Linked DNA regions of Homo sapiens: region 1 is linked to region 2. Evidence: promoter capture Hi-C in 16 types of primary human blood cells and fetal thymus (Javierre and others, 2016). All regions are on one chromosome and are shown on one strand. The core of a region is centred on a gene start or on the middle of the fragment in contact, and the rest is flanking DNA. Distances in the headings are between cores, read along the strand shown. Region 1 has its middle 89 kb from the start of LSM14A. Region 2 holds the start of CHST8 (carbohydrate sulfotransferase 8).

Region 1 (3,405 bases), core at 713-3,212, 460 kb before region 2:
TAGGGATAGCTCCTAAGCCCCAGAGCTTGCTGAAATCATGAAAATTGGCCAATCCTAAACCTGCTTGTCCTGCCTAACCCTTTCCTTCCCTGCTGCCGTCTCTGGTGCTTGCTTCCTTGGGGTGGCCCTGCAGGGCGTTGCTGTGTTCTCACCCCAGGGAACTGTCAGCAACAAAATGGTAAGAGTCAATCCTTTCAAAAGTTTCTCCTGAGGTCTGCATAAAGCCTCCTGTCCCTCACCATCCCTCACCACTCACTGTGGGGAGAACAGTGGGCCATATGGCTTCGGTCACAGCTACTCAACTCTGTCATTGTAGGACCCAAACAGCCATAAACAATATAGGAATGTGTTCTGAAGGAAACCAGAATATTTCACCCCAAAAATAGACTTCTTTGGCATATTTTGAGATAATTATTCAGAGAAACTGCAGACAAGAATAGCCCTGAAAAGCTGTCTTTGGTGGAGGAGATTTGCATCTGTAGAGAAAATCTACATTAGTGAAATAAGCAGCCAGGCTTTCTCTGAGCACCCTCTTCTCCAGATCTAGGAAAGATGAGCTCACAGGAAAAAGAGACTAAGAGCCTAACACGTTTAAAGGTTTGTCAGAGAAACTTTGCCACAGTCCACTTCTATTCTTTCTGAGAGCTGCTACCTGTGATGCTTCATTTGCATGACAAGACCACTTTGACAAATTTTCCTTCTTTCCTTTTCCCATAACCTGTGTGCTACCTCTTCTGGAAGCCCCAAGCCCCTTATTCTTTCTGTAGCCTCAGGATAGCATAAAAATTCCACTCAACTGTGGCTCACTCCTGTAATCCCAGCACTTTGGGAGGTCAAGGCAGGTGGATCACTTGAGCTCAGGAGTTCAAGACCAGCCTTGGCAACATGGCAAAACTCCATCTCTGCAACAACAACAAAAATTATCCAGGCGTGGTGGCACATGCCTGTAGTCCCAGCTACTCTGGAGGCTGAGGTGGGAGGAGGATTGCTGGAGTCCAGGAGAGCGAGGCTGCAGTGAGCCTAGATGGCACCACTACACTCCAGCCTGGGCAATAGAGTGAGATCCTGTCTAAAAATAAAAATAATAATAATAATAATCACTCACTGGGCTCTTTGAGTTTTCATATTTTCTGTGACATCCCTGCATAAGTGTGCATGTAAAAAATTTGTTATACTTTTCTATTGTTAACCTGCCTTTTGTTACAGGGGATTACCCCCTTTCTGCCCCTACACTTTCAATAATATTTTATTTACAAAAATAGGTGGTAGAACAGATTTGACACCCAGGCTATAGTTTACTCATATTTGCTTTAGAATCTTCTGATAGATTTAGATTTTCTGATTAGTGGGTAATATTAAAGAAAGCTTAATCCATATATTAGTTAATAAGTACATCTTTTCAAGCTGTCACTTAGTTGACACTGAAGGAGCCTTGCAAAAGCGTTAAGGGCGCTTTGTCATACTCTGTGAACTGTTTCAGCCCTGGAGCCTGTCTGTGTGGCCTTCCATAGTGTTATACTTCATATGATTTTAGAGTGACAGTAATGGGAATGGAACTGCCAGATGGAAGGCTGACTGCATGTCAGAGGCTAGGCCAGATGCATTCTATTCATCCTCACTACTCATTTTCCTAAGGACAAGTGTATCTCCTCATTTTATAGATGGTGAAACTGAGGCTTAAAGAAGCCCAAGATAACACATCTCGTAAGTGGTGGAGGCTACAGTCAATCCTGGTAATTTAACATAAAAGATCATGTTCCTATCCACGTTATGAAATCACATTTCTGTGATGCCCGTATCTCCTTTAGAGCTTGTTAAAGTCATCCTTTAAAAATGTCTATTGGCATCAAGGGTGATTTTTTTTTCTTGAGATGGAGTCTCGCTTTGTTGCCCAGACTGGAGTGCAGTGGCACAACTTCAGCTCACTGCAACCTCTGCCTCCTGGGTTTAAGTGGTTCTCCTGCCTTAGCCACCTGAGTAGCTGGGATTATAGGCACCCGCCACCATGCCCAGCTAATTATTGTATTTTTAGTAGAGACATGGTTTTGCCTGGCTGGCCTGACTGGTCTCGAACTCTTGACCTCAGGTGATCCATCGCCTCAGCCTCCCCAAGTGCTGGGATTACAGGCGTGAGCCACTGCGCCCGGCCCAGTGACAATTACTTAATACAGTATTTCTTTTGTTAAATAATTTTTAATTTTAAGGATTTTAAGGATTCCCCAAACAGAGAGATACACTTTTTTTTTGTTTGTTTGGTAATTGGAGGTTGTGCACAGGGAGAGGATAGATTCTTGCATTCATTTTAGTTCACAATAGAATCCATCAGTTGGCGGGAATTGTTAATTCTCCCTTGGGGGAAATCAAGTGCCTGAGGCAGTGATTGATAAATCAATAAATCTTTAGTGGGTCTGGTAAATCAAGTGTCACACGTATGTCAACCTTTTCTCCAGATTATAGATTTTACCCAGGACAAGTGTGTTTCTTCCTTTCCATCATTTTCTCCTTCAAAATTGCAACATACTAAGGTATTTAAACAAATCCTTAAGATTGTAAGCTTTTTTTCTTCTTTTTCCATTTTTAAAAGATAGCATAAGGGATCATGCTTTTCTCAGCTATTTTAGGGCAAGAACTCAGTTGTTTGCATATTTGCATTTCAACCCCTAACCTCTCCTGAGGACAAATGGCTGTCTGACGATGAAGCCCACAGGCACAGCGCCGGGACTGTGGATTAAGCCTCTGAATGCTGACTAGTTTTCAGCAGCATTCCCAGCGTGTGTGAAGAATGTGTTTGTAGCTGGGAGGCAAACAGAACATCCAAAGCCGAGCAAGAATTTTGAAAAATAGTTGTCTTATGTATAAATGTATTTTTGCTCTTAGTGTTTTCTTCTTGCCGATTTCATTATTCCAGATTTCTGCTTTCTTTTAAAATAGCTCCATTGTGTTTGATATTCTCATAATATTCTCTCAAGTTTTGGTCACTTGATTTTTTCAAAATGTTCTTCTTTTTTTTTTTTCTTTATCATTTAAACACCCAGCCATGGATGGCTGGCTTAGATATTTCTCCCCGCTGGTAGGGAAGACCTGGTGACTTCCACACAAGACGCCTGTAAGGCCTTTGCTCTTCACAAATCAGGGCCCAGTTGGAAGCTTTGGCAGGTACTGAGGGCGACAGCTTAGGTTTTTAGCTCTTATAATAGGAACAGCAAGGCTTAGGGCTGTGGATTTATTTCTCTTAACAGTTTAAGTTATCATTGTGCCTGCTTTTAGGGCCAAAGAAATGAATTCTCTTAACCGGCTCTTTATTCTTTAGTGAAGAAACATATATTGTAGAAGTGTGAGTTCTGCTTGGGTAGAAAAACCAAACTAATTTGATGAATTGGCACATTGGCTTAAAGGGTCCCCAAT
Region 2 (3,264 bases), core at 102-2,601:
GGAGACGACTGCAGGACAGAGAGCCCCAGGATCGGCGCCTACTTCTGGGTTAAAACAGACAGCCGGGCAGCAGCGCCCACAGCCGAGGGCGCCGCAGCCGCTTCAACTCCGGGTCGGGGTCGCGGGCCTGGAGACAAGATGTACGCGAAAGTTAGGGCGGCGGGAGTCCCGCACTGGAGAAGGAATCGGGGTCACATCAGACCCAAGCCCCAGCATCGGGCACTGCCAAAACCCGTGATCGCCCTCCTGGCCCGGCTGGCCTCCAGCGAGGCCAGAGCGGGTCTGCAGAGTCGGTAGCCGGAGTTGCAGCCGCCGTCAGAGCTCGGCTCGGTCCCGCGGCCAAACGGATCATTTCCCCGCCCCCTGGAGCCGCCCCAGGCTCCGACTCCCGCACTCCCGACACACGCACGCACACACCTTCACACCATCGCTGACGCACGCACACTCGCCTCCAGCACTCACAGGCCGGTGCCCTGGAGAGTTGCGGGTCGGGGACGCGCGCGACGGAGCCGCTGGGTAGGAAGCCAAGGCCACTTAAACTTCCCCCATAGTCTCTGCCCGCCGCAACCCGTCCGGAGCCCCGGCTCCGAGCGCGCCAGGAAGCCCCAGCGCCCCGAGCGCTCCTGCCTGGCCCTCGGCGCTCGCTGCTCAGCGCCCGACGCCGCCTCCCCGCGGGCAGCACCGAGGGCCAGGAGGCGGAGCGGGAGTCCGCAGGGACCAAGAGGGCCCGAGGGACGGCAGTTCCCAGAAGCGCGGCAGCGAGTGAGATCCAAGGAGAGAAAGTCTAATTAAAGTTCCCGCTACCGGGGCCGGTCCCCAAAGTGCAACCAGACCCGAGCCCCGCGCGCCCACCTCCGCCCGCAGCTTCGGACTCCCATTCGCGTGCGGTGGCGGGGATGGCGAGCGGTGCAGTCCGGGGCCCGCTCGGGACCCCTTCCTGGCGTCTCTGCAGGCCAGGAGCCTGCGCAGGGCGGGAACAGGGGTGGGGCAGGGGCGCAGCCACTTACCTGGCGCAGCGGACGCACCCGAGGCCGCGGGCGCCTCCAGTCCGGGAGCGGTTCTCCGCGGCGGATCCTCTGCTTGGGGCGCGCAGGCGGCGGAGAGGACCTCCGACCCAGCTCGGGCCCGGTGCCTCCGCCCGCTCCAAGCGGAACCCAGTGCGATCTGTGGGCGAGCAGCGTGGGGCCGGCAGCCGGAGCGTGCGGGGAGCGAGAGGGCGCGGGGCGGCGTTCCTCTTCGGCCCCCGGCGCGATCGGTCCCCCACCTCCTGCTGCCGCCGCCGCCTCGTCCTCTCTCCTCCCCGCAGCACTGCCGGATCCGGCTTGCGCGCCGGGAAGGCTCCCAGCGAAGTGAGAGCGAAGCCTCCGGCGAGGCTGGAAATAGCGCCGCGCCCGCCCGGCGCCCCGCCCCCGGCCCGTGCCCCGCCCCGCCGTGGTGGCGGCTACGGCGGTGGCCGGGCCGGGCGGGGATCGCTCCAGCGATGCACTCGGCCCTCCCGGGGGCTCGCGGGCGCCGCGCCCACGCGCGCTCTGCGGCTCCCGCGGCCCCTCTGGCAGCGCTCTCAGAAAGAGTCGCTGCTGGGCGCGGTCCGGCGGCCGCGGGGGTGGGAGCGGTCGTGGCTGGGGCTGCGCCGGTCTCCCGGTTCAGGAGAGCCGGACTCCGGCCTGACGCTAGGCTCCAGACCGCGGCCAGTGCTGCCACTGCCTCGGTGGGTCGCACGCGGCGCCAACCCGGGAAAAGGACCAGGCGTCACCGGGGCGGGCCTTGACCACAGCGGGGCAGGGGCGCGCGCCCAGGACCCGATGCTGCGGGGGCGCAGGGCCGGTGAAAGGCGGAAGATTGATCCTGAGGAAGATTCTGGGATATCCCTGGGCTTCAGCTCGCGTGGAATTCGGTCAAGGCCGCGAGCTGCCTCAGGCCCGGGTGTCCGCATCCATCCTCAAATCCCTGGGGCTCTAGATTCTGCTGAAAGTGCCCTGCGAACAGGTGCTCCCTTCAGGACTTCATCCTGGAAGTTTGTGTCGGGTCACCAGCCTGAGAGCGGGGCCAACCGACCCTCTTCATACACACTCGGGAAAACAGCGTGGAGGGTGGAACCGGCCCACGGCCACACAGCACCGGGACAGAGTAGGGACAGGAACACGGGGCCCTGGATTCGGGTCCTTGTTCTTCCTAAGAAGAGGCAGCCCCAGCCTGCAGGGGACAAGCAGGCCTTGGGAAGGGGGGCAACTGCTTTCTCACAGGAGCTGGAGGAAACTGTGCACACAGTCACCTGTTAGTCTTGAAGGGACACTCAGTATTTTCAAACAACAGCAGAGAAGCCTTTAATAAAGTGAAAGACCCTTACTCTCTCCTCTCTAATGGTACCTGCTGGCTGGTTGGCCTGACTCCTACCAGCTGACCTAGAGTGAGTGATGGAATTGGGGAGTGAGCTGGGCCCATGGGTCTTGACTGACCAGAGTGGGGGACACCAGGCGGAGAGCAGAGCCACTCCTGGGGACGGCCAGGGAGCCCCTCAGCCCCAGGGCCATGAGGCCTCCTTAATGCCCCAGGTAAGCTCAGAGCATCCAAAAATAGACCAGGACAGATAAGAAGATAAATAGAAGCATGACAAAGAGATCATGGTCTTCCTTTAATTCTTGCAGCAACAGAGTAGACATTATCACTCCCGTATTACAGATGAGCGAATTGAGATGCAAAAATGCCACCATTTTGCTGGACTCCACGCATCTGGAGAATGGCCCAGGTGTGATGATTCCAAACTGGGATAGGCTTTGTTCTGGGGTTCCCTTTCCAGGACTTTAGGCTCGGAGTGACCCAGGCCTGGGGCTGCGCTGGGACCCAGGCACACTCCACTGGCTGCACGCATGAGGGGAATGTGTGTGTGTGTGTGTGTGTGTGTGTGTGTCTGAAATCACCCTCCTCCGCCTCAGTCAGGTGCAGATTGGAGGAGCTGAGTGCAAGGGCCAGGGACTCAAGTGTCAGGAAAAACAGGGCAGTGGAACCCTTATTCATCCTACATCCCAAAGCTGTTGGAGCAGAGCAGGAGAGAAGGTAGGAACAAAGAGAGGGGAGAGTGGAGTGAGCAAAAAGTCACTTGCCGGACTAGCTCACAGTGCAATGACCCCATCCCTGTCCCTGTGGTCCCCTTACCCCACACTTGCAGCCCCTCTTGCCACCCAAGGTCCTGACCATAGCTTGGCTGGGCAGCTGCCCATGAGCTCCCTGTCTGCAGTTAGGCCTGGAACAGAGCACACAACTTTT

What was found. The method cuts DNA at HindIII sites, captures the fragments that hold promoters and counts their contacts. A CHiCAGO score of 5 or more calls a contact.
Region 1: a fragment that was not itself captured here is called in contact with the fragment with the promoter of CHST8 in region 2 in 1 of 17 cell types (M2 macrophages); the score reaches 5.0 in M2 macrophages.

The regions. Positions count from the first base shown.
Region 1 is chr19:34,082,200-34,085,604 of GRCh38, reverse strand. No RefSeq gene overlaps it. Among named protein-coding and RNA genes, the nearest start is that of LSM14A, 89 kb to the left of the region's middle. The HindIII fragment of the contact is 1,189 bases long and covers 1,368-2,556 here.
Region 2 is chr19:33,620,040-33,623,303 of GRCh38, reverse strand. It overlaps CHST8 (carbohydrate sulfotransferase 8), which reads right to left and starts at 1,351. Exons shown (of 5, transcript NM_001127895.2): 1 at 1,008-1,351. RefSeq lists an enhancer at 1,646-2,390. The HindIII fragment of the contact is 23,667 bases long and covers 1-3,264 here.